Linked DNA regions of Homo sapiens: all the other regions are linked to region 2. Evidence: promoter capture Hi-C in 16 types of primary human blood cells and fetal thymus (Javierre and others, 2016). All regions are on one chromosome and are shown on one strand. Each heading gives the region's core, a stretch centred on a gene start or on the middle of the fragment in contact. The rest is flanking DNA. Distances are from core to core; before and after follow the strand shown. Region 1 overlaps SIPA1L1 (signal induced proliferation associated 1 like 1). Region 2 holds the start of SIPA1L1 (signal induced proliferation associated 1 like 1). Region 3 overlaps SIPA1L1 (signal induced proliferation associated 1 like 1). Region 4 overlaps SIPA1L1 (signal induced proliferation associated 1 like 1).

Region 1 (6,247 bases), core at 1,347-3,846, 300 kb before region 2:
TGTTAAAACTACTACCACCCACTACTAGGATGCAATATGGCTAAAATGCTAAAAGAAAGAATTAAAGTAAGAGTATATAAATATATTATCTATAAAATTGGCCCATATGCTCAAATTACTCTAAGCAGAATGTGAAATTTTACATTTTTATATTTAAAAATCTTGGCTAGAATATATCTTTGGTGGTACTAATAGACTTTGAAACTCTAAGCTTTTAAGAACAGCGCGGTGAAGTGGCACAGACTTTGAGGCAGACTATGTTTGCACCCTGGTTCCAAAACTTACTAACTGTGTGAAATTGGATTTATTACTTAATCTCTCTGTGTCCCAGAATCCTTCTCTCTAAAATGTGAATAATAATAGTACCTTTCTCACAGTGTAGGGAGATTAAATGAGATAACATATTTAAGGCACTTAGAAAAGGGGCTTGCAAATATGCTCATTATTATTAATTACTGTTATTACTGTATTGTCATTAACACAACATTATTATGATTACTGCTATTATTTATTCTTGGACACTCGAAAAACTTACCGTACATATGGAAGATTATCAAAAGAATTTAACGTAGTTTAAAGTGCCTTATTTATAAATTCTGACATGCAGAATTTCATCAGATGAGAAATGTTCAGAGTTCAGAGTTAAGAAAAAACAAAATGAGTAATTGCAAAGAGAGTGTCTTTCACAATAAAAAGTATCAATTATCTCCATCAAAACAAGAAACATTAAGGTCTGTATTCCGGAAGCCTAGCAATAAACCTGAGCAAGAATGCTCTCCTCAGAAAGGCAAACTCACCCCTTGTTCATCCAGTTTCATGAGCTGCTCTGTGACCTTGGGTGTGTTGAAGGCCAACCGCAGGCACTGGACATTGAGCTCAGGAACCACGTGCTCCAGCACTTCTTTGAGAGGCAGGCCTCTGGCTGTCGAGTGCTTGGCTGTCGACGGAATGGCGTCCTCCAGGACCGAACCTCTCAGTGTCATGAGCTGCAAGAGAGACAGGTGCTGTGGTGAGGCTTCTGGGATGTGAGATGCCTGAACACATGTACATGCACTGCAGGCCTGAACTGTGGGGCTCCTCACAGAGCTAGGGAATGATTTTTGATGGGTAAAGCCAGTGAGGGAGAAAGAATGAGAAAAGTGATGTAGGATACTGTAATATGAAAAATGAAACCAATGCTTTCAAGACCAGGGTGGGTCCAAAGGAGCACATAATCAAGACTTCTGAGGATATTTATTTAAAGACAAAAAATAACATTTCCTTAAAGAGATCAGTAAAGATCAAGGTCTCTATATGGCTATACCATGTCACTATGCATACTAATTAGGAAATTAAGAAGGCAGAACCCCAGAGCAATGTCTGAAGAATAAATACTTAGAATTTGGATGTTATACTTCTTTGAATTATAAAAAGGGGGAGATAAAGTTTTAAGCTTCATAAGGCATGGCTGACAAGCATAAACTATTCATATTACCAAATGCTGCTGCCACCGGACAATTATCACCATCAGTACAGCAGCACAGGCAATAGCAGCTGAAATTACTTTAGATTTTCTCTTATTTCTTAAAATACCTTCCCTTCTTAAAATACCCTCCATTAATACCTTAAGCAAAGACATTTTCCTACGTAATGATGTTGTTTTCAGAGAAAAGTTAACCAGACATGAAGCCTAAAGTAGTCTTAATTTCCAAAAATGTCTACAAGGCAAAGTTTTGTTAACCTAATTTAACTGCTGCATGGGGAAAGAAGAGAAAACCCATCAAACTGAATACATTTCCATTTAGCAACAGGAGCTACAAAAGCTAGGAGTGCAAGTTGAGGATTGTCAAATATGAGGGTGAGAGGTCAGAAAGACACACTGCAATCTCAGAAGGACAAGTATACCCAACAAAGTATAACAAGGTCAGGACCTCAGACAGTCCAAAGGCAGAGAATGGACCACAGTGGCTCAGGGCATAAAGAAAGGCCCCACTGAAAGGAGGGGTTTTAGGAAATGGCCATGAAATAGAGGAACAATTTCTACAAAAAGAAAATGTCAAGAGACAACATGAGCAAAGGTATGGAGATTGGGAAAAAAGGGAGTAAGTGGGAAGGAGTGATTATTGTAGATGGACACAAGGAGAGTACAGGGAGAAATGGATGAGGCAGCTGTGAGCTGGGGGTGCACAGAAGACCCTGAAGCTGACTGAGTGGTACACGCCTCACTGGGCTCCTACAGGTCAGCACAGGACGTGTTCGTAGGGGGACGATGTATACTCAGAAATTAAGCTGCAAATAAGATGAACTGTGAGAGGAAGCAACTGGAGGCAGAGAATGTAGTTAGAATGAGTACCTTTTTTCTTTCATTATAAACAATTTCTTTTCAAATAACAAGTAAAAATCATTTTCCTATTAATGTATAATTTGACACAAATAGTTTTTATTTTGTTTTTAAATCATGGAAAATCGTTAACTCAGTTATTTGACTGTTTTCTTCATGAGATAATACATAGCTTGAAATAGGGAGCCACAAAGGCTAGGGGTGTTCTCAACTTAGAAGCCAAGACCAAATTCAAGCCATTGCATCCTGAGCCATAGAAAGCAGCTAACTCATGAAAGCCAAAGCAGATGAGAAAAAGAATGGCTCATTTTTTACATCCGAATCACTAGTATTACTGATATTTTTCTTAATGACTTCCAGAAATAAGAATGGAGTCCTCATAAGTCCTCGTGTTCCTATGCTTAAAAACACTCACATGCCATAAAATTTTGCTCATAAACAAACTGCCATGCCTACAAAGGTATATATCTTCTTTTATGTTTTGCAATGTTTATTTATACTAAAATGAAAGAGATTTGTTTGTATTTCTGTTATCTTGCTGCCGCTTACTGAAGCCACTAGAGTGTCACTGTCATGTTTTCTTTTTTCTTATCTGCATGAGAAATTAGTAACATGAGAAGTCCCTGATACAAATTAAGTCTTGTTTCATTTGTAATAGGTAAATGGGCTTCAGTGAAAAAAGTGAAGGAACTATCTCTCAAAGTGCAGGAGCTACAGACAGGAACCAATATCTGGAAACATTTCTATCAAAAGTCTTAATACAATATTACCATTAAATCAAATTTATGGATTATTTATTATTAGAGAGAAAAAAATTATACAAAACCTAGTGGCAATTAATTACATAAATATTAGCGGGAGGAAGGAAGAAAGGAAGAGAGGAAAAGGAGGAAAGACATGGAGAAAGGGATGGAAGGAGACAGGCAAGGAGGGGAAGTGAGAAACAGGGAGGCAAGGCACCATTTGAGGAATCGGGCACGTTGTACTGAACAACTCGGACAGAAGCCCCCACCCTCCTGGGGCCTGCATTCTAGTGGGAGAGATTAAAAGCAAACAAAATGACTAAGTATAACAGAGAAGACAGTGTTAAGTATTAATGAAAAATAAAGCACTGAATTGGATATGAAATGGGAGGGGAATAGAAATTTTAGATTCAGCGGTCAAGGAAGGCCTCTGTGGTTTCTGAGTAAAGGCCAAATGGAGATGAGGCAGCCTGATGCAGAACACAGCAGTGGGGAGGAATGACGGGCATCTGAGCCCTGAGGCAGAGGTGTCCTGAGGTGGCCCAGGTAGGAAGGAGGCCAGTGTGGCAGGAAAAGACTGAGCCAGGAGGAGTTATCAGGGATGAGGCGCAGAGAGATAACCGGGAAACAGAAGAGCATGGTCTCCTAGGCTAGCAAAGACAGTGGCTGTTTCTCAGAGGGAGATGAGGAAGCTTTCAAGGATTTCGAACTGAGCAATGGCAAGATCTGGAATGACATTTCAAAGGAACCCTGTTGGGTCAAAAGGAGGCAGGGCTTCAGCATAGAAGCAGGGAGAACAGTTCTCAGAGCAAGACCAGGACCAGGACTGGGTAGTGAGGGTGGGAGAAGTAGTTGAGCTCTGGGCATATTGTGAAGACAAAATGAACAAGTGTTGCTGACAGACCAGATCTCAGGGGCAGGAGGGAGAAGATGGGAATAAAGTGTGGCTTTAATGGTTTCTGGCCTGAGAAAATACAGTAATAGAGTTGTCATAAAGTGAACATTAATTTGAACGTAAAAAACAAGTGGTAATGGTTTTTTTGAACACTTGACTTGAACCTTTCAGTCAAAGGCTAAGGAAACAGACCCAAGGGACACAGCTTATTCAAATGGCTTAGCTGGAGAAGAAGAGAATCTTATGACTACAGAATTCAAGTAGAACATTTCGGGTCAAGGGAGTAAAGCAGAAAGAAAAGAGGTGGGAAAGGTAAGAGTTGGTGTGGTTCACAGACCAGAGCAGAATTTAGGACAGATAGGTAGGAGACAGGGGCTGGGATCAGATGTGGAGAGCCTGCAAGACATGCTGAGAAGGGAAGCTCGTGGAAACCAGTGACAGGATCTGCTGAGAAGGGAAGCTCATGGAAACCAGTGACAGGATCTGACTCAGAAAGAATCATAGGAAACTTTAACCTCTGGCATGAAGGATAGGATGAACAAGTGATAAGGAAATGAATTTAGGTGGACAAAAAAACAACACAGAAAAGGAAGAATATGATGGGTATTTAAATCAGAGTGGCCTTGGGAAGGGAAAAAGAAGAGAATGCGAAAGACAAAAATACTTGGAAGTAAGATAAGAGAGTATCACTAAAAACTGGTAGGAACGGCCAGGTGTGGTGGCTCACGCCTGTAATCCCAGCACTTTGGGAGGCCGAGGCGGGTGGATCACCTGAGGTCGGGAGTTCGAGACCAGCCAGACCAACATGGAGAAACCTCGTCTCTACTAAAAATACAAAATTAGCTGGGCATGGTGGCGCATGCCTGTAATCCCAGCTACTCGGGAGGCTGAGGCAGGAGAATCACTTGAACCCAGGAGACAAAGGTTGCGGTGAGCCAAGATCGCGCCATTGCACTCTAGCCTGGGTAACGAGTGAAACTCTGTCTCAAAAACAAACAAACAAACAAACTAAACTGTTAGGATCTGGGAAGCTAGAGAGGAGCAACTACCTGCATACAAGTCCAAAACACAGAACATGACGTTCTTCGTGCCTTTGTGCTCAAAAAAATAATTTACACCACTTAATGATTAGCTTTGCCATGGAGAAAAAGCACATGAGAGTATGTTAGTTCATTTCTCTCTGGCCAGTGTAGACAACACATTAGATATTTAAGTCTTGTCTTTAAAAGTCCTATATTTAATTTCCCCGGAGTTCAGGCTTAGGAACTATTACTAAATGATGCCAACCCCGGAAACTTGCTTTGCATTCAATGGGGGAAATGAAGCCAAATGCCCTATTTAAACTAGTTTCAAAACCATTATTTTCTAGATGACTCAAGGGTATTAAGTATTAATGCATAACAAAAATCCTAAAGTGAATTAGCAACTGAGAGGCAATAAATCGATAAGTGGCCCAATTATACAAGTTTACAAAGAAAAAGGAGAACCTCATAGTCCCAAACTTGTTCATAGGTGTTTTAAAAAAAAAATGCTGTGTGGGTTCTTTTTATTTTTCCATGTCTTTTTTTTTTAGCCCAAACTTCATTTTAAAATAAAAAACTCATACATTGTGTATATTTAGATTCCTAAAGAGCTCTAACAGCCTGTTTCACTTACAATTAGATAGCCCCTGGTTCAAAGAATGTACCTTCTAGGTCTCAGACAATGGGTCCCAAAGATAGTGGAAGAAGTCAAGAATCTCTTTCCCTCCTTCTTCTTGGGCGAAGACATGAGCTCAGCAAGAGCTTGGAAGAGTGAATTAAGTCTTCAGTGGCCTTCTCTTATATCTAATATCCTGGCTCCTCAAGTTGGCTTGGCGCTTTCCAGTAGCCCTAAGCAGGATACACAATATCCCAGTGGGGATCTGAGGGCTCCAATTTCCTTGGGCCACACTTAATGGACATATCTTTCTCTGAATCAAAACTCCTCATTCATAGACTGCATCTATTCAGAGTCTGATGAAAAGAAGAGGTCCAGATCTAACCATCTTGTCCACCTCGATCTCCACCAGAATAAATGAAAGGGGACTTTGCTTACTCCAAAGACAGCTGTAACCATGTGCTATTAAATTTAATTGCTTTGCTACTGCTACTATTTGCTTTCTTCCCCATTTCAGTTAAACCTCAAACCTCTCTCATTTGCGACTTACCTCACTAGTTCTAAAAATTATTCGGTAGTTGTACGGAGATCCATTTTCTTTCATTTCATCTGGTTTTTCCCTTCGAATGCTCACAGCCACTGGACCAAGAT
Region 2 (6,724 bases), core at 1,325-3,824:
AAGAGTTAAATGAATCTCAGTACAAAGTATCAGAGAGGTGCTTTGCAATTATTACCTGGAGTTGAAGTCAACCTTGCCATAGACTCCTCCAATGAAATCACAACTATCACTGACTGATACTTCAGATTTTAAAAGTTCACTGTACCAGAATTGCAATTTCAAACTCGAGGAGCAGAAGCAGGAACTGCAGAGAAGCTAACAACAGCAACACCTACTGACTGTCTCAAGCCACTCACCAAACTTGTTCACTCAGTCAACTAGAAAAATCAAATGACAGTCAACTTCAAGAGTCCTTTACTTAAGCATTAATAAGAAAATTAGTTGTCAGAGACATAAAGCCATTCATCCCCCAAATCTCTTATTTTGCCTCTAACCATTTATGTGGAAACAATCACTCATCATTTTAAATGCACTGTTAATTGTTAATGCTTTAGCATAATTGATTCCATGGGAAAAATGTTTTAATATTAATATTGTAGTTAATAACTGGGATGTCATCTAATAGTTGGACACATCGGTGGCCATAATAAATTAGCTGAGACCTACTGTTATTACCACTGTTCCATATTATCCTCTTTTTTAAATCCTGGTAAAGGTAGCTTAATTGCAGCTTTCAAAAAACGAAGAGAAAAATGACAGTCGTTAAATCAGGATTATATAGAAAACTAATATTATTACTAAACTGGCTGCAGAATTCAGTATGATCTAACCTTGCACGTTTCCAAAAGATTCAGTCAGAGAATCTTTGCCTTGGACGGATACTCCATAGGAGAAAACAGGAGAAAGTTGACACTTAACTCCCACAGAGTACCAGCATAAAGACAATGGCTTTAAGAGTCTGACTCAGAGTTTCAACATGAAAGGTTTGCTTTATAGAGGAAACGCCAATCCCAGTCCATCCAGATAGACCTGGAACCTGATGAAAGTCGACACCTTTATTCTGAAATTTGCATCACATCGCTGGCTCCAGTTTAGAAACATGATCGTTTCACAGGTAGTATGCATTTCAGCGAATGCTGCCTCTAAACTACCCGTCAGGAAAAATAAAATCTATAAGGTAATCGTAGTCTAGGAGCCATCAATCCCCAAATGCTTCTCTTAGAAAACGAATGCCAACAATTTAGCTAAACATCTTCCTTGGAAGTGAGCCATTTCCCATGTCTCTCTGTTCTCCAAACCGCGATGAAATTTCAACCTGCCCAACACGATTACTGGTCCACCTAGAAATGCCGTGGAGCGATTTAAGAGCCTCGGAAATTTCCTTTAAGGTCAGGAGAGAAGCTGGTAACAGATGGGGCGAAGGAGGAAAAGTTCTTTTTGCGGCACCCTCACGCCTTCCCAGCCCTTTCGCGGTTTACTCGCTCCCCGGAAAGCAGGTTAGAGCATCCCAAAATTTCATGTCCCCAAGACCCCCAAAGGGGAAATTAACCACCCTCGGGCACCGAGCTGTTCGTCTCCATTTCCCACAACTCAACCAACTCGGCCTGCCTACTCCAGCTCAGGCTGCAAAGCGCTCACCCAGGTGACTGGAGGGGAAGGGTCGCCAGGTGGCGACCAGCTCAGCGGGGTGGACGCAACCGCCCGGACCGGGACGCGGGTCTCCTGGCCTCCCGCAGAGACGCCTGCCCAGTAGTTGTGCAGATTCGGGTTCTGGGGTGCGTGCGCGCGCGCCGGGCGCGGTGAAGCCGGACTCGCCCCCGCCGGGCTAAGCTACCAGCAAGCCACCAAATCGAAAATCAAACTTTAACCGGCCTCCTGGGGTCCTGCTCCGGGCCCTGGACCCCAACCCCGGCCAGAAACAGGGCAGGGGGCTGTCAGCCGTCCTGCACCCCCGCTCCCCCCAGGACCCGGGCGCGGGGACCACTTACCGCTCGGCCCGGCCTCCCGGTGCCGCCGCGCGTCCCGGGCGCGTCCGCCGCGCGCTCTCCCTGGGGAGAAAGAGAAACCGTGTAGACGGCCGGCGCGCGCTCACTCGCCGCCTCCTCTGCGGAGAGCGGCGAGGCCGGCCCGAGGCGGGCGCCGAGCGCGGAGCGGAGGGGGGCCCGAGGGAGGCGGGGGTGGAATCAGCCCAATTCCCGAGGCTGGCTCCGAGGGGGACCCGGAATACAGGCTGGCGGGGGGCCGGCGGGGGCCGAGCTCCCGGAGGAGGGGAAGGCGGAGGTGGCCCCGTCCTTGGGCATCAACTATTGTCTAGGCGCCCGGGCCCCCGCTCGCGCCGTCCCCGAGGCTCAGCGCCCCCATCCCGCCCGCCAGCAGAAAGAACTGAGGGGGCGGCCAGTACGGGAAGCAAGTGCGGGGGTCCGGGCTCCGAAGGTCCAAGGTGGGCGCGAGGTTGCCGGGGGGGGGATGAGGAGGTGCGTACCGCATGGGGGAGGGGACAGGTAAGTGCGGACGGGGGCGGGAAGGCCCCAACGACCGGTGGGGGAGGAAATGGGGAGGGAGCCACAGAGGCGGGAGGGAATGGAGTGGCTGCGGGGGCGGCCTCTGGGGCCCAGACCTGGCCCTCCCCGGGGACCCTCCAGCCGGGGACTCGGCGCTGCACTGACTTTTCGCTCACTCGCTCACGCACGCACTGAACTCGCTCACAAAGTTGCCGGCAGTGGCGGCGCCTCACTCGCCCTTCCCCTCCCCGCCCCGCCTCCCGCCCCATTCCTTCCCCTCCTTCACTCCTCCCTCTCCCCCAAGTCTCGGGTGAGATCACCACGGAGCGGCTTAGCGCGGCGCACAAGTCTCGCGAGAGAAGCGGCGGCTGGGCCCTGCAGGCGGAGGAAGTGGAAAAAGTCGCGGGAGGGTAGGGGACCGCGGAACTTCTGGTTGCTATGACGACGGCAAAGCCCTGGATTCCTGTCTCCTGCGGAGAGCAGAGGCTGCAAACGTGGGTGCAGTTTTCAACCTGCCCGGCGCACTGGCGGTGGGGAAAGCTAGGGGTGGTTGCGGAAGGATAATTTTTAAGCCGATTCAAGAGGGCATCTCGAGAGGACCACAGTCATGATATCTGGCCAAATTTGGCAAATGAGACTAATGTATTAAGAGGTTCTGGGACAGGTTTCTGCCTTTCTAGGCAGCACATATCTGCACCCCAAATTTCTACTATATATTCAGTTTTTCGGCCTTCTCTTTCAATCTAATTCCTCCATCCCCACACTCCCCATGCTGCCTCCCTCCTCCTCTTCTCAACTCGCAAACACACGCAGACTGGGCTCCTTCAGGAACTGGCTCATTCATCTCTGTATTCTCAGCGCCTCTATAGGCTTGGTCCATACTACATATTGGCCACTTTTTTGACAAGTTGAACGCAACAGTCCATGCCTGTCCTCAGTACTTGCCTTTGGCCCTAACCTAGAGAGTTCAGTCAAGTTTGGACTCTATCAAGCTACCCTCCCATTTCTGTTAACACCTTGTCTTTTTCAATGGTAATAATCTCTGCTTTCTCCATATTTTTCTCGTAAAAACCCTATTCACCATGGTGAGGGGAACTTTTTTTTTAATCATTAGGCATCCGCAGACGCCTTTATACGTACTCCAAAATGCTAGTAAGGATGAAGATGAACTCTCCTCAGCCCGTGTCTTTTAACTGTAGAAACTTTTCTGAGGTGAGGGTTATTATATACTCACTGCCTAAGTAAAATGGATATTATGAATAGAAGTTAAACTTTAGATTTCAAAATGAATGAGTAAAAATAGATACCATTGTATGTGGATTATATCTCAATTTTTAAAATTCCTATCCATGAACATGGGGAAACCATTATTTAACTCAGTCCCACAGAACTAGAAACCTAAAGCATAACCTAAGCATATGAGGACTAGGCAGTCAAAACTTGTAAGTCACTTGCAAGTTTAAATCCTGTCAATGAAAGTTTGTGTATTAGAAACCTAAGTGATACTAGACAAAGTCAGCAAACTAGGGTTTACGTTTTTCTGTGCCACTAATAATTGAGTCTCCTTGAGAAGTTATTTAATCTCTCTGATTCTTCATCTGTGGGGGGTACCCCACATGTTAGGTTATTACAGCTTTAAAATTCTATAGCTGGCCGGCATGGTGGCTCACATGCATAATCCCAGCACTTTGGGAGGCCCAGGTGGGAAGACTGCTTGAAGCCAGGAGTTTGAGACTATCCTGGGCAACATAGAGAGACCCTGTATCTACAAAAATAAAAAATATTAGCTAGGTATACTGACATGCACCTGTAGTCCCAGCTATTCAGGAGGCCGAGGCTTGAGAATCACTTGAGCCCAGGAGTTAAAGGCTGCAGTGACCTCTGATCACACCACTGCACTCCAGCCTGAGCAACACAGTGAGATCCTGCATCTAAATATATATACACATATGTATGTGTGAGTATATATATATATATATATATATATATAATTTAATATAAGAGCTCTTAGACCTATAAAATTTTCCAATAAATAACAAATCTTCCTTTTACAGCAAATGATAAAAAAAGTTTCATCTTATAGTAGGTCAGTTTCACAAAGAGTAGCTATATGTTGACAATTTTCTTTAAATGTTGACAATTTTATTTTAAAATTTATCTTGTCCCAACTACAAAAACAACAAAAATATTGACCATGTTACAGTAATTTCAAAGGTAATCTATAGTTCATGATTTGCTTTTACACTAACTCAAAGCAGATTCCTTGTTATTTAATAAATACTCTAATTAAAACCAAAGACCCAAACTAAATACATCCATACTCCCAAAATAACTATAAGGAAAGAGGGAGGGAGGGAGGAAGGAAAGGAAGGAAGGAAGGAAGGAAGGAAGGAAGGAAGGAAGGAAGGAAGGAGCGAAGACTAGATCTGTGGAAGGAAGGAAGGGAGGGAGGGAGGAGGGGAAGGACGGAGGGCCTCAGATTCATTTACTGGTGTGTTTAATATCACATTTTCACAAAGAAACACAATGGAACATCACCATCAGTCCTGTGAATCTGTTTTAAGGAACCATTTTTCATAACATTGCAAAATATTATAAATCAGTTGTTGCTCATTTGTTCTGGCTTAGCTTTTAACATAATTTTGCCCTTAAAAGATGGCTGCCAATCTACATCCACCAACGCAGTACAATTTCAGGACCATCTGTTTTATGACTCCCAGATAGCCATTTGAAATAATTGACCCAAATGCTAGCCAAATCTATTAACATTCTTCAGTGCTTCATATAAGGCTCAAGAGATGGGTGTTGGCCTCAAATTACAAAAATAACCTCCCTAATCTTCAGACATAGTAAAATAGTAGAAATTGTCCCAGGGATCTAAAACTGCTTTTTCAAGGCCCTGGGCTACTATTTATCCCTCACTGATGGCAGAACTTTCATCCGTGTTTCTAAAGGAGATAAAAAGTGAAAGCTACCAAAGCCTAGTTTCCAACTGCACATTCTCTAGGTCAGTCACTCCTGCTGTATCTTCCTGACCTTCCTAGGTTTCAAAATAGCAGATGTCAGGCAGCAGAAGAGGGAAATGCGGAATGGAGAGTTTGCCAAGAGCACAGACTAGATCTCAGTCCACTTCCTGTCCACTGTCTTGGCTCCTCTACCCATCTCTGCTCAACCCCTTGCCTTTGCCCTCCAACACAAAGGATATGTAACCTTTCTAGTGATAAGAACATCTAGTCATTTGCTATGTTGTTCCCTCCCTATTTGCTTCTTATTTCGTTAAAACCCAGGTGAATTCATTTCCCTCTGGTTATTTACCTCTACTCAACAAAACACCCTAATGTATAGTGTATACCAAATATAGAATGAATTTTGACACAGAGGCCTACCATACAAATTTTATGTATTTTTTAATATTATAAACACTGACTCACATTTGCATGTTTTACATTTAAAATCTGATTTAACTGGCCTATTCAGAACTCCAGTAGCTGTACATCTGCAGGGCATTATTCTAAGTGATATTTAGAAAGATTACTCTAAATCATTACAAAGGTCCAAAGTGCCCTCAAAATTATTCAGGATTAAATGATATCCCATGTTGTTTTAATTTTAGGGTGTTATTATTTTAGCCTTATTGATGTAACTCTGTTTACATGAATACTGGATTCCTTAGCAAATGCCCCTTCTCTCATTTACATAGTAGTATTCATTACAAGTTTAAAACACCAACTACTTTATAACGTTGTTATAAATAATTATAACGTTCTGTTAATCAATTAACAGCAAAACTACTATACTTCCCTGTGCTCTTCCCTCCTCTTTAAAGGACTGTTTCACATCTTCTCCTCCTTAATCAAACCTCTGCCTAGTACTTCTAGCTAATGGCCTTGCTCCCTCTTTTGTTGGTAAAATAGAAATAATCAGAAGAGAACTGAACACACATACCCTCTCTATCACTCTTGTCTACCAACCTGCCTGCATCTGTCTGCATATACTCCTCTGTCCTTCCTGTCATTTATGAACTCTTGGTGCTCTTAGCCAAGATTAGCCTCGGTCTGTGCATTAGTGCCATCACCTCTAACTCAGGGACATTGATTCAGCAACTGTCCCCACTCTCTCTTGAATCAGCAAATTTTCCTTCTCTACTGCTTCACTTCTAAGGGCTTACAAGCATACTGGAATATCTGCCGTGGTAAAAACTAAAATGCTTCCTAAATTTTATGTCTCCCCCTGCTTCACTTTATAACTGGAATCTTCAAAAGGCTCTTCCATGCTTGGTGTCTTCAATTCCTATCCTTCCCTTCCCATGAATCCACTCTGAGCAGCCTTTCACCCCCACTACT
Region 3 (6,610 bases), core at 1,559-4,058, 270 kb before region 2:
ACGGTCTTGTCTTGTTTTTCAGCGTGTTCTGTATGCTTTTCAGCATGGCTGAGTCATTGGAATTGAGGCTAACAGAACTTCCCTGACTCACAGGACTGCTTTTGGAGGACAGGCTATCAAGGCAACTTGAGGTTTCTATTTCCTGGCTTGAACGGCTAGATTCTTTTATGTTTTCCTTTCTTGGGGGCCAATCTGCAATCCTTGCCCTTACCCCCATTTTTGGGACTCCGGGGGTTGAGGTTATATGGTGAGAACCTTCACTTCGGGGGGGTCCTACAGGAGCCATAACTGATGATCCTAAGCTGCCATTTTGGGACCGGAAGCGCCGCATGTAGAAATCATCAGTGTGGACTTTGGGGGTGCCGTCTGTGCCAACAACAGAGGCCCTGTCAGTGGCAAGAGGCCTTTCTGTCTGTGACCGTTTCAAGCTGGTCATGATGTAAAAGCAAGTAGACTTAAATCCCTGCAGCAAGGACCATCATATCTGTGTTTTAAATGTGCACTTCCCTTTTGGAGAATGGCTTCCAGAAAATACAACAGTTGCATGAGATCTTAATCTTTTTCATTTAAAAGGTTAAATGATGCTTTATTTGTAAAGCACTGAAAAATTGGAACTTCTAAACGTTATAATCCACAACAGTTTCTTTGCTTCACTTTAACAGAGGGCTTTCTTTCAGAAAAAACTGAATGGAACTTGTACTACTGAGATTCTGTGGTTGCCATAATCCCATGCTTTCTCTAAAAGAGAAAAGGATAATTTGAATTAGCAGATAAATACATCTAAAAACAAACATGCAATTGTCAAAACCAGACACATGAAGATAAAAGACTCAATAATGGATTAGGATTCACAGTTCCACAATCCGTATTTTTAGTAAAGCAGGTTTGAAAGAAAGGAAGAAAGTAAAAACCATTTGATAAAATCCATAATTTATATTCTAAAAAAAAAAACTATTAAGACTTCATCTTAATTGAACTGTTTCATAAAATGGGGGGCAGGGGGAGGGGTACATCTTGTTCTGGATATCATGGCTCCTACCCAAAGTACAGACTTTTGCTCCAATGACCTCTAAAAATGTAGAACATCATGAGCTACTGTGATGACCAGAAGTTTGAGATGTAACCAAGTGAATAAGATAATTAGAGCAACAGAGTTTTTTGACAAAAGTAAAAACTGAAAAATGACTTTACTGAATATGCTGCAACAATCACTTTTTAACTCCTCTATTCCAAAATCAATACATGTTTTTTGTTTCCTTACAAAGGCTTAACATAGTTGGCAAAAACAAATACAGCAGGAAAAAATAAATAAAAAGAGTTTTCCCAGAGCCATTATATCCATTAGCACTCTTTTGTATTTTCCTCTACTTTATTACTTACCGAGACGAGGATATTGCAGAATGAATCCAGCATTCACCACCACCTCTTCCCAAGCTCTCCTTAGTTTCTTGTACTCTTAAAAGCTAGAAGTATCTCACTAATGAACAAAATGCCTGCATTTCCTCATGCAGTACAACCTACTCCACCCCATCAGTGCTAATTTATGAAGACGGCAGAAACAAAACACAGCTCTGGGTGGCCCTCTCCATATCCCCAACAGATTACAGAGAACTGTTAGCATCCTTCCAGGTGACGGGCATGGAAACAAACTTCCTCATGAGCACGTCAGGCAGAAGGCAGGAGACACAGATTCTGAGTACAAAATTCTGCATGGTTGCGTACATTCTGAAAAGAAAGGCAGAGGCTCCTTTTCCAAGACTCCACAAATTACACAAGAGGTGGCCTTTAAATTCTTGCCAAATACATGTTTGGAAAGATGCTGCTGAACCAGCACTGAGCTGACAGGGCGGCATTGTCTACAAATCACGGCTCTGACACCGGAGGACGACCTGCACTTGCTGCACTCTCCACTCAATGGTAACAAGCACCTACTTCCACGATAATTAAGCATCTCCCTAGTCGGCTTCCTGCCTCCAAGGCAGGCGCTTTCATTTCTCTTGCAGCACACAGCATCACTTTAGAAGACTCGCTGCTATTTAAAGGCTGGAACATGTAGGGGTGTTTCAAAAAAAAAAAAAAAAAATGCATGCTGCCTGCAGAATGCAGGGTGAGGCGAGCTCTGGCTGGGCTCGTGCTGGCTGAGTCTGTGGAGCCATTCAGATAAATGCCATTTGTTTTCACTAGCACTCCTCTTCACCATCTTTTGTAAAAGGGATAATAGTTTTGCACTGCTACCTAATTAAACATGGCTTTTGAGCTTTCTAGATACTTCTACTGTCAGACTGCTATTATTCCCTTTACATTCCAGAACTTTACATGTTCCTCTTTCAATGATAACCCTTCAAGTGACAAAACATGCTAACTGTTGCTTCCGAGGATATCAAAGGACAGCATATATGGCCATAGCAAAGGTTCAAGAAGTGATTCTCATAAAATGGAAGGAAAATTGAACAACTGAACCAAAATGCAAACACCTGTTCAACATCTCCCCAAAAGCTGATTATTTCAATGAATACTCTACATAGCATAAATAATACTTCTAAAGTAGATTTTATAAAAATTAGATGCTTTCAACATTTCTCACAACCTCACAGAAATCCAAATAAATCATCTTTCATTCCCCAAACATTCATTCTCTAAAAGGACAACACACCAATCCCACCATGATAAAAACTCTTGCCACATTTCATGTGCCTTAGAAAATACTTTACTGCACAGCTGTCTTTCCCAGGATATGTGAAGTTATTTCCATTAGAGGAGGAAACTAAAAGCTGGCAGTAAAATACAAGAAATAAAACTGACTTGGAAATGCTCAGTCTCCACCATCAGTATTTCTCTTCCAAACCATCTCATATACTTCCAATATTTTTAATGAGTTTATAAAATCTTATTTTTAAATATAAAAATTTCTTACCAATTCAAAAGAAATTTCAAGACTCCCATTACATTATATAACAACGACTCAATGTTTTCTTTTCATTTCAAAATATAAATAAGCACATGGGAGAGAGAGAAGCCACGTTTTAATGGCTTGTAAAAACTGATGAGGTTCGAGATGGGCAATTATGTTAAATAACAGATTTTTTTTCAGTCATAAGGACCTTCCTTTTCTATGTTTTTTTTTTCTCCCTCTCATTTTCCATCTCCCTCCCTCCCTCCCTCCCTTTTCTCATTCTTATTTATAGCATCAAACCCCTTTGGGGTACAATATAAACTTTGGGCACTGACTAGCATATATGGAAATATACATGCTTTGCACTTATTAAACTACCAGTCAAAAATAATGCTGTCCATCGATGTGTATCATATGATGACAGATCAATAATACCTTCACATCTATTCCTTAGGGTTGACTGAAACAGCAAACCTATGTTGACAATGATCAGCAACTCTCTTAAATATCAGCAAACCTGCCTAAGTACCAATATGGTAAAAAGCAATAGAATTAAACAGAAGAGCAATACGAATTCACAGCATGTCACCTCCATCTGTTGAAAGAGCAGGCTATATAAAAATTTTCCTTATTACATGTTTAATTTTACAGCTCTAGATACTATCTAAGTCTATGGTAGATCCAGGTAGCTAGAATACTAATTCCATCTAGAGGGCCCACAGTTTAGTTCAATGAGTTCAATTCAACTAGTTGAAAGTCTTTTCATCACTCAAGATCTCTCACAACCTAACCCACCATTCTTCCAGAAGAAATGCTTCCTCCTCTCATCCAAATCACCCCCTGTGTTTCTGTAGTGTCTTCAGAGCATGGACCATACATCCACCAGTCCCTCCTTCAAGGAAAGCTCCAGGTGTAGCAGGGAGACACAGACAAGTAAGAAGATGACGGGGGATGCATGGGTCATGCCTCCTTCCTATACACTTTCCATTTTGATTGTAAGCTCTTTAATAACAGAGCTTACAATCTCCTGCTGGGACTAATTGTACCACAGTAGGTCAGCCATTTAGAATATCAAGTCCCTGAGAATGCTGAAAGCAGAACCTCTTATGGGATCTCTTGATTGCCAAAAATCCCTTGTCATTCTGGCTCTGTGAAGCATCTGTACTCCTGAACCCATCCTCCATCCTGAACCTCTCTTTTCTGGACCTCTGTGATAACCATGTGCTTCTTCATTTTCTCTTGCCTCTTTTTGCCCACTACTCAGTCTTTAGTTGGGGTCCATTGAAAAGGTGGTGTCTATGGTTTATCTCTCTTGACATTTTTCATATTTCTGGAAAGGGGTATAAAAGGTATTTCTATCAGGATGCATGTGAGCACTGAGTGTATTAGGATGAGACAGAAGCATGGGTCCACTGGAGTAATAATATCACTGTGGAAAGCAGAGTGTTGATTGGGCTGGCTCACATTTGTCTGTGCAGCTGAACAAAGGCAGAATAATTAAGTTACTGGCTGGAAATCTGCATGGCAACCAGTACTCTGTCTGTTGATACTGTAGGTGCCTGCAGCTTTAAATATCATCTCTATGCTGTTACCTCCAAATCTCTGGTCATGATCTTCTCCACTAAACTTCAGATAAAATAGAGGTAGGTGCTCATTTGACATCTTCTTTATTTACCTATTTTACAATGAAATAACCAACAAGCAGAATAATGAAAAAAATTTTTTTTCAAGAAATGATTAAGTGGTAAGGAAGGGAGCACATTCTATTCCTAATTCAAGGAATAGAATGAAAGAAACAACATCGTGCCAAGGGCATAAAGAGCAGTTTAAAGGTTACAAGAAGAAGATGTGGGAAGGGGGTGGGGTTGGGGGAACACTACAGTTCCTGTTGTGAAAGAATTACAGTGCAATATGGTAGGGTCACCAGAAAGATGTAGCGTTCCTCATAAAATACTTCCACATTCCAAAATGAGATCTTCTCAGATTCTTTAACTGGTACAGCCTAAAATACAACGCCAGCTCTCAATGTTTCAGGGCAGTAGAAGGAACTGTGCTGATGAATAACTATTCAAATGCCCCAATAATTCAGAGATATACACTTCAGAAGTATTTATGAAAATTTCCAGGCCCAGCACAGTGCCTTGTGCCTGTAATCCCAGCACTTTAGAAGGCCAAGGCAGGCAGATGGCTTGAGCCCAAGAATTTGAGACCAGCCTAGGTAACATGGTAATACCCAGGCTCTTAAACAAACAACAAAAAAATAGAAATAGTTTTTGAACTTGTAAACACAGACTTAGAATGCCTGTAAATATTCTTACTTCAGAATGTAATAAAACACTATTTAAAAACAGAAATATAACTTCACAGTACTTGAATATTAGATGAGCTAAGATAATCAAATAAGGCAAACTATTTTCTTTACATCCCTTCTTGGCTTTCCTGAATTCCACTCACATTACATAAAAGTTGCATCTCAGACAGAAGGGATGGCTCACTCTTTCAAGTTAGCCTGAAACACATCTTAGTGCAATGTCATGGATAATTTAAGATTTATGAATCAGCGTAAAACTTTTTAGAATGGAATTTCTACCTCCTTTCATTTCTGTATTCTCCCTTCAACAAAAAGCAGGAAGAGTTGAGAAAAACAGTTGATAAATCTAGTTCCTGCTCTCCTAATGTTCACTCTCTGAAAGAGACAACACTGATGGAAACAAAGTCGAGTCAAAAAAACTTTTGGTAAAATTAACAAAGTGAATAGAAAAGTTATAGATACAAAACATGTAACATGATAAAGCTGTATTTGAATTTAGAGATAAGAAAGCAACTTAAAATGTGCCTGTTTGGACACAGGAAGGATCAAAAAGGAAAATCACATTTCCCTCCCACTCACCCTCGTAGCTAAAAAAGTTCAGTGAAGAAAGTTACGCTTCTAAGGTTTTGTTAAGCTTGAATATAGTTTGTATAGCTGAAGGTGAAGGAAAGAACACAAAAGTTTGGCAGAAAGCTTGAGGGCAGAAGAATGATAAAGAATGCGGGAACAAGTTACGTGGTGGAATAATAATATTATTATTATTACTATTTGAGACAGGGTCTTGCTCTGTCACCCAGGCTGGTGTTTGGTTGTATGATCATGGCTCACTGCAGCCTTGAACTCCCAGGCTCAAGTGATCCTCCCACCTTGGCCTCTTGAGTAGCTAGGACTACAAGCATGCCTCACCATGCTTGGTTAATTTTTAAAATTTTTTGTAGAAACAGGGTATTGCTATGTTGCCCAGGCTGATCTTTAACTCCTGGGTTCAAGGGATCCTACCAAAGTGCTGAGATTACAGGAGTAAGCCAGTGCACCCAACCCATGGTGGAATAATTGGTAAGTAGTAAATTGATGCAACAGCTGGCAAAATGAAGGAGAACAGAAGTACATGTCAATGTTTATCTCTTACATTTAAATATGACTAATCTCATGCAATAAGCACATAATAAAATATCAAAGACCTAAGTTGGGACAGCTTAAAGTAGGAAGGGCAAAAGGAGTAAAAGGTAGTAAGTAGAAAGGTAAAAGTGAAACAGAATTATTAGAGGAAAATAGTGTTTGAGGTGTGATAAGTTATAATAACACTTTAAAGGAAAACAAACCAAAAGCTCACTAACTTATTGGGGGCATTGAGAGTTTCCATGCCTGCCATCAGGATAGCAAGAGACCAGATGAGACCGAAGAAG
Region 4 (6,967 bases), core at 813-3,312, 280 kb before region 2:
GTGCTATTTAAGCTTCAATCATCTAGCCAATCTTTTGGTGTCACATCTTCTATGGTTCCTGTGTTTATGCATGTATATGACTGTATATGAAGGTTTTTATTTGTTTTTATTTTTTTCTTCTGCCTGAAAAAAATAAAAAGTTTTAACTTTTTATCTGGACTCCTTTTAGACTCAGAGAAAAGTTACAAAAATAGTACAGGTTATTTCCGTATTGCTCACCCAGACTCCCCCAGTGCTAACATCTTACATAACGACATACAGTACAATAATCATTGTCAAAACCAGGAAATTGAACCTGCTTGGTTGGGACCGGTTGGGAGCGTGGAGAGACTCCCTAGTGCAGGGTAAGTGAGAGATCCCCCACGAGCCACATTTCCATTGTGGACTCACTCCTGTAATCCTAGCTATGGAAGAGCCCCATGACCCTTGCAGGCCCTGAAACAAACATAAGGAGATGCCTGGAAACCGTGCCAGGGCAGTGCTCAGGACGAAGCCCACAATTGGTCCAACATACCCTCCTGAGTCCTACGCAGCTACAGCATGCATAATGACACCATTTTGACAGCCTAGTCCCAAAAAGACTGCACCCTGCCCTAGGGATCAACAGCACTTGCATCTCCACATTCCTGGAACCCCACCAACATCCCCTATATGCAGCCACTGCCACAGCAAACTGCTACCACCAGGGCTGAAGCATGGGCCACCTGGCAGCAAACCCCCTTCCTCCAGCAGAGGAAGATCACCCATTTTCACATGCCCAGACAGACTTCACGGCCTGCAGGTGCCTTTGTTGTGGGCTGCCATCACCGCGGCTGAAGCACAAGGGAAGGGCATGTTTTCCACCCGTCTGCATGTGGCTGCTGCTACTGAAAGCAATCCCGCCACCCCCAGGAGCACAGCCACAGAGCAGCCACTGCCATCCCCACCTGAGCAATCTTCCAGGGGTCTGGGGATAACTCAGCCCCTGCCCACCATAGCCAGTGTTTCATGTGCCATCAAGGAGGCAGAGGTCAAGCTTTCTCGGCCCACCATAGCCATGGCCAACACCAGTGCACACCACTTAGAACTCAGAGGGTCATCCCACTACTGTTACTGCTATCACCCCTATCATGCCTGCTTCCCAGGGCCCAGGACTCCAACAACTGTACAGCCCACTGCCAACATTACTGGTATCCAAGCAAGCTACCTGTAGCCCCAGAATTAACCTGCCAGGACCTGCTGGCACAAGTGCTGGTGTTTGCTGCCCTGAGGCCCAGACACACACAGACTCAGTCCAACACTGCTACCACTGGACTCGACGATTGGCCCACCTCCTAGGCACCAGCAAAAGTTCAGCAGAGCCTCCATTAACAACTGTACCCTAAGTTATTGAGGAAATCACAGACACAACTTATGCTGTTTACAGACAAAGACATTATACAGAGACTATACTACTACATGCACCCAGAATCAAAGTCAAAATGCCCTACCCAATCAGCACTACAGATACATTTTCAGAAAAAGTCCGTCCCCATGAAAGTAAACTCAAAAAACTTCAAGAAGCAACTGTTACATCAGATGTGTACATAGTAATGTAAGGACATAGAAACCATGAAAAAACTAAGAAATATGACATCTTAAAAGGAATAGAATTAAGTCTCCAGCAACAGATCCCAAACAAAAAGAAATATACAAAATCCTAGAAAAAGAATTCAAAATGTTGATTAATGAAGCTCAGTGAAATACAACCAAATACTGAAAAACAACACAAATATATCAGAATATGAATGAGAAATTTACCAAAGAGATAGAAATTATAAAAAGAAACAAACAGAAATATTAGAAGTGAGGAATTCATTGAATGAAATACAAAATACATTTGAAAGCAACAACAATAGACTAGATTAAGCAGAAAAAAAAGAACCTCAGTACTTGACGACAGATCTTTTGAAATAACATAGTCAGTCAAAAATTGCAAAAAAAGAATAAAAAAATGCAAAGCTTATGTGACATGAGACATTATAAAGCAATCAAATATTCAAATTTTCAGAGTCCCAGAAGGTGAAAAGAAAATCAAAGGGTTAGAAAATATATTTAATGAAATAATAAGATAAAAACATTCCAAGTCTAGCAAGAGATTTAGATATCCAGATACAGGAAGCTTACAGATCCCCAAACAGAAACAATAAAAAAGGGTCTTCTCCACAGCACATTTTGGTCAAACCATCAAAAGCCAAAGACAAAAATAGCAAGAGAAAAGTGTGTAGTCACTTATAAAGGGACCCCCATCAGACTAACAGTGGATTCTAAGCAGAAAACTTATAAGCCAGTAGAGAATGGGAAGATATATTAGAAGTGCTGGGGAAAAAAAAGAAAAAAAATAAATAAATAAACCTGTCAGCCAAGGCTACTATACTCAGCAGTTATCCTTCATAAATGAAGGAAAAAGAGTCTTTCCAAGACAAGCAAAAGCTGAGATAACTCATCTTTTTTTAGTGTTAAATTCAGTGCTAAAAAAAAATGCTTAAGTGAGTCCTAGCCCTGGAAGTGAAAGAATGATAACTACTACCAACATGAAAACACACAAAAATGTTACCACTCCAGAAATCCACCAAACTTGGCCAGGTGCAGTGGCTCCCACCTGTAATCCCAGCACTCTGGGAGGTTGAGGCAGAAAGAATGCTTGAACCTAGTAGTTTGAGACCAGCTTGGGCAACATAGTGAGACTTCATCCCTAGAAACAAATTTTTAAAAAAATTAGCTAAGGCCAGGTGCAGTTGCTCAAACCTATATTGTTCTAGCACTGTGGGAGGCTGGAGCAGATGGCTTGAGCTCAGGAGTTCAAGACCAGCCAGGGCAACATGGTGAAACCTCATCTCTATAAAAAAATATAAAAGTGAGCCAGGCGTGGTGGCATGTGCCCATAGTCCCAGCTACTCAGGGGGCTGAGGCAGGAGGATCACTTGAGCCTGGGAGGCAAGAGGTTGCAGTTAGCTGAGATCAGGCCTCTACACTCTAGTCTGGTTGAGAGAGCAAAACTTTGTCTCAAAAAAAAAAAAATTTATATATATATAAATATATATAAATATATCTATATATAAATATATATAAATATATATAGATATATAAATATATATATATTTATATATATCTTGCTCTTGCTCTGTTGCCCAGGCTAGAGTGCAGTGGTGCAATCTCGGCTCACCGCAACCTCCACCTCCCAGGTTCAAGTGATTCTCCTGCCTCAGCCTCCTGAGTAGCTGGGATTACACGCACGTGCCTGGCTGATTTTTTTGTATTTTTAGCAGAGATGGGGTCTCACCATCTTGGCCAGGCTGGTCTCGAACTCCTGACCTCGTGATCCACCCGCCTCGGCCTCCCAAAGTGCTGGGATTACAGGCGTGGGCCACTATGCCCGGCTATATTTCTTTTTAATTAGTAAGGCATGGTGGCACATGCCTGTAGTCCTAGATATTCAGGAGGCTGAGGTGGGAGGATCACTTAAAGCCTGGGAGTTCAAGGCTGCAGTAGGCCATGATCACACCACTGTACTCTGGCCTAAATAACAGAGTAAGCATCTGTCTCAAAAGAAAGAAAAAAAAAGAAAACCACCAAATCACAGTGGTAAATAACATGAGAAAGAAACCGATATATAAAATAACTAGAAATCAATTAATAAAGTGACAGAAATATGTCCCCCCTATAAATAATAACCTTGAATGTAAATAGATTACATTTTCCACAGAAAAGATATAGATCGGCTGATTTGAAAAAAAATATATATATGATCCAACTATATAATATCCACAAGAAACTCATCTTACCTCTGAAGAAACATACAAACTACAGTAATAGGATAAAAAAGGTATTCCATGGAAATGGAAACCAAAAGTGAGCAGGAATAGGTAGACTTAGATAAAACAGACTTTAAGTCAAACAAAGTAAGAGACAATGAAGGCCATTATATAAGATAGATCAACTCAGCAAAAAGATGTAACAATTCTAAACATATCTGCACTCACCACCAGAGCACCCAGATACATAAACAAAACATTATTAGATTTAAAGAGAAAGACTCCAATACTATTATAGTTAGAGCAGTGGTCCCCAACCTTTTTGGCACCAGGAACAGGTTTCATGGAAGACAATTTTTCCATGGATGGTGGGGACAGGGGACAGGCATTAGATTCTAATAAGGAGGGCACAACCTAGATCCCTCGCATGTGCAGTTCACAGTAGGGTTCATTTGCGCTCCTATGAGAATTTAATGCCGACGCTGTTCTGACTAGAGGCAGAGCTTAGGTGATAATGCTGGCTCACCTGCTGCTCACCTCCTGCTGCGCAGCCTGGTTCCTAACAGGCCACAGACCAGTGGTTGGGGACTCCTGAGTTAGAGACTTCAATACCCTACTCTCATCCTTAGACAGATCATCCAGACAGAAAATCAATAAAGAAACACTGAATTTAAGCTACACATTAGACCAAATGGATATAACAGACATTTACAGAATATATTTCATTCAGTAGCTGCAGCATACACATTCTTTTCATCAGCACATAGAACATTCTCCAAGATAGACTGTATGTTAGGACCCAAATAAGTCTCAACAAAACTTTAAAACTTGAAATAATATCAAGTATCTCCTGAGACCACAATGAAATAAAACTAGAAACCAATAATAAGAGAAACTCTATAAACTGTAAAAATAAATAGAAATTAAACAATATGCTCCTGAATGACCACTGGGTCAAAGAAGAAACTAAAAAGAAAATGAAGAAATTTCTTGAAGCAAATGAAAACCAAAAAACAATGTACAAAACCGATGGGATATGGCAAAAACAGTGTTAAGTGATAATTTTATAACAATGAGCAACACATCAAAAATAAAGATTTCAAATAAGCAATCTAATGGTGTACCTCAAGAAACTAGAAGAGTAAGAACAAACCAAATCCAAAATTAGTAGAAGGAAAGAAATAACAGATCACAGAAGAATTAAACAAAATAGAGACTAAAAACACAATAGAAAAAAATCTACAAAATAAAAAGTTGTTTTTTTTGAAAAGACAAATACAATCAATAAACCACTTGGTAGGATAACCAAGAAAAAAAAAGGGAGAAGACCAAAATAAAATCAGAAATGAAAAAAAAGACATCACAACTGATAACTACAAAAATACAAAAGATCAGAGGCACTAACAAACTAAAAAACGTACAGGAAATGGATGAGTTCCTGGACACATACAACCTATCAAGATCAAATCCAGAAGACGTAGAAAATCTGAAGAAAACAATAACAAGTTATAAGATCATGCAGTAATAAAAAGTCTCCCAATAAAGAAGAGTCTAGAACCCAATGGCTTTGCTGTTGAATTCTATCAAACTTATAAAGAATACAAATTCTCCTCAAAGTATTCCAAAAAACTGAAGAAGATGGAATTCTACCTAACTCATTCTATGAGGTCAGCATTACCCTGATACCAAAACCAGATAAGGACACAACAAAAAAAGAAAACTGCAGGTCAGTATTCCACATGAACATACATGCAAAAATGTTCAACAAAATATGAACAAACTGAATCCAACAACACACCAAAGAAATAATACACCATAACCAAGTGGGATTTATCTCAGAGATGCAAAGATGGTTCAAAATATGCAACTCAATAAGTATGACATATCACATCAACTGAATGGAGGACAAAAACCATATGACCATCCCAATACACATAAAATTGTTTGGTAAAATTTTGCATCCCTTCATGATAAAAACTCTCAACAAACTAGGCATAGAAGAAACAGACCTCAACATCATAAAGGGCATATATGACCAACCCACAGCTAACATCACAATGAATGGGGAAAAGCTGAAATCCTTTCCTCTAAGAATTGGAACAAGACAAGGATGTCTACTTTCACCACTCCAATACAGTATTGGAAGTTCAAGCCAGAGCAATCAGGTAAAAGAAAGAAAGAAAAGGCATCTAAATCGGAAAAGATGAAGTCAAACCGTCCCTCTATGCTGATGATATAATCTTATATCTAGAAAAAACTTAAGTCTGCACCAAAAAAATCTTAGATCTGGATCATTAAATTCAATAAAGTTGCATTATACAAAATCAACATCAACATAAAATTCAGTAGTGTTCCTTTACACCAATAACGAATTAGTTGAGAAAGAAATCAAGAAGGCAATCCCATCTACAACAGAAACAAAAACAAAAACAAAAAACAAGAAAAGAAAAATACCTAGGAATAAATTAAACCAAAGTTGTAAAAGATCTCTATAAGGAAAACTACGAAACACTGTTGAACGAAATTGAAGAATACACAAACATGTCCCATGCCCATTGATTGGAAGAATTATTATCATTAAAATGACAACATTTTACAGATTCAGTGCAAATCCTCATTCAAAATATCAATGTCATTCTTTGCAGAAATAGAAAAAACATCCTAAAATTCATATGGAACCAAAAAAGAGGCAGAAGAGACGAAACAATCCAGAGCAAAAAGAATGAAGCTGGAAACATTATATTACCTGACTTTAAAACATATTACGATGCTACAGTAATCAAAACAGCATGGCATTGGTCTAAAAACAGACACAAAGACCAATGGAACAGAATCCAGAATACAGAAAAATTCATATATTTACAGCCAACTAATTTTTGACAAAGGTGTCAAGAACACACAATGGGGAAAGGACACCCTCTTCCCCTCTTCAATAAATGGTGCTGGGAAAATTCTACAATCCTGTCTCTCGCTATATACAAAATCAACTGAAGATGGATTAAAGACATAATAAACATATGACCTGAAACTATAAGGCTACTAGAAGAAGGCAAAGGAGAAATGCTCCAGGACATTGGTTTAGGCAAAGACTTTATGGCTAAGACCTGAAAAGCACAGGCAACGAAAACAAGAATAGACATATGGGACTATACTAAAGTAAAAAGCTTTTGTACAGCATAAGAAAGAATCAAAAG

Evidence for each region. The method cuts DNA at HindIII sites, captures the fragments that hold promoters and counts their contacts. A CHiCAGO score of 5 or more calls a contact.
Region 1: a contact is called between a fragment that was not itself captured here and the fragment with the promoter of SIPA1L1 in region 2, in 8 of 17 cell types (neutrophils, monocytes, activated CD4 T cells and 5 more). The highest score is 19.0, in neutrophils.
Region 3: a contact is called between a fragment that was not itself captured here and the fragment with the promoter of SIPA1L1 in region 2, in 7 of 17 cell types (neutrophils, monocytes, total B cells and 4 more). The highest score is 23.8, in neutrophils.
Region 4: a fragment that was not itself captured here is called in contact with the fragment with the promoter of SIPA1L1 in region 2 in 9 of 17 cell types (total B cells, monocytes, activated CD4 T cells and 6 more); the score reaches 11.4 in total B cells.

What each region holds. Positions count from the first base shown.
Region 1 is chr14:71,618,787-71,625,033 of GRCh38, reverse strand. It overlaps SIPA1L1 (signal induced proliferation associated 1 like 1), which reads right to left. Exons shown (of 24, transcript NM_001386936.1): 6 at 6,147-6,247; 7 at 798-986. Among named protein-coding and RNA genes, the nearest start is that of SNORD56B, 220 kb to the right of the region's middle. The HindIII fragment of the contact is 2,323 bases long and covers 1,435-3,757 here.
Region 2 is chr14:71,316,326-71,323,049 of GRCh38, reverse strand. SIPA1L1 (signal induced proliferation associated 1 like 1) reads right to left here and starts at 2,574. Exons shown (of 24, transcript NM_001386936.1): 1 at 2,547-2,574; 2 at 1,869-1,928. SIPA1L1-AS1 (SIPA1L1 antisense RNA 1) reads left to right here and starts at 1,202. Exons shown (of 4, transcript NR_184180.1): 1 at 1,202-1,376. RefSeq lists a silencer at 1,656-2,675 and an enhancer at 2,936-3,095. The HindIII fragment of the contact is 21,627 bases long and covers 1-6,724 here.
Region 3 is chr14:71,581,699-71,588,308 of GRCh38, reverse strand. SIPA1L1 (signal induced proliferation associated 1 like 1) reads right to left here. Exons shown (of 24, transcript NM_001386936.1): 5 at 1-738. The coding sequence starts at 436. Among named protein-coding and RNA genes, the nearest start is that of SNORD56B, 190 kb to the right of the region's middle. The HindIII fragment of the contact is 6,064 bases long and covers 1-5,840 here.
Region 4 is chr14:71,600,074-71,607,040 of GRCh38, reverse strand. The region is part of intron 5 of SIPA1L1 (signal induced proliferation associated 1 like 1); the gene reads right to left. Among named protein-coding and RNA genes, the nearest start is that of SNORD56B, 210 kb to the right of the region's middle. RefSeq lists an enhancer at 822-1,579. The HindIII fragment of the contact is 160 bases long and covers 1,983-2,142 here.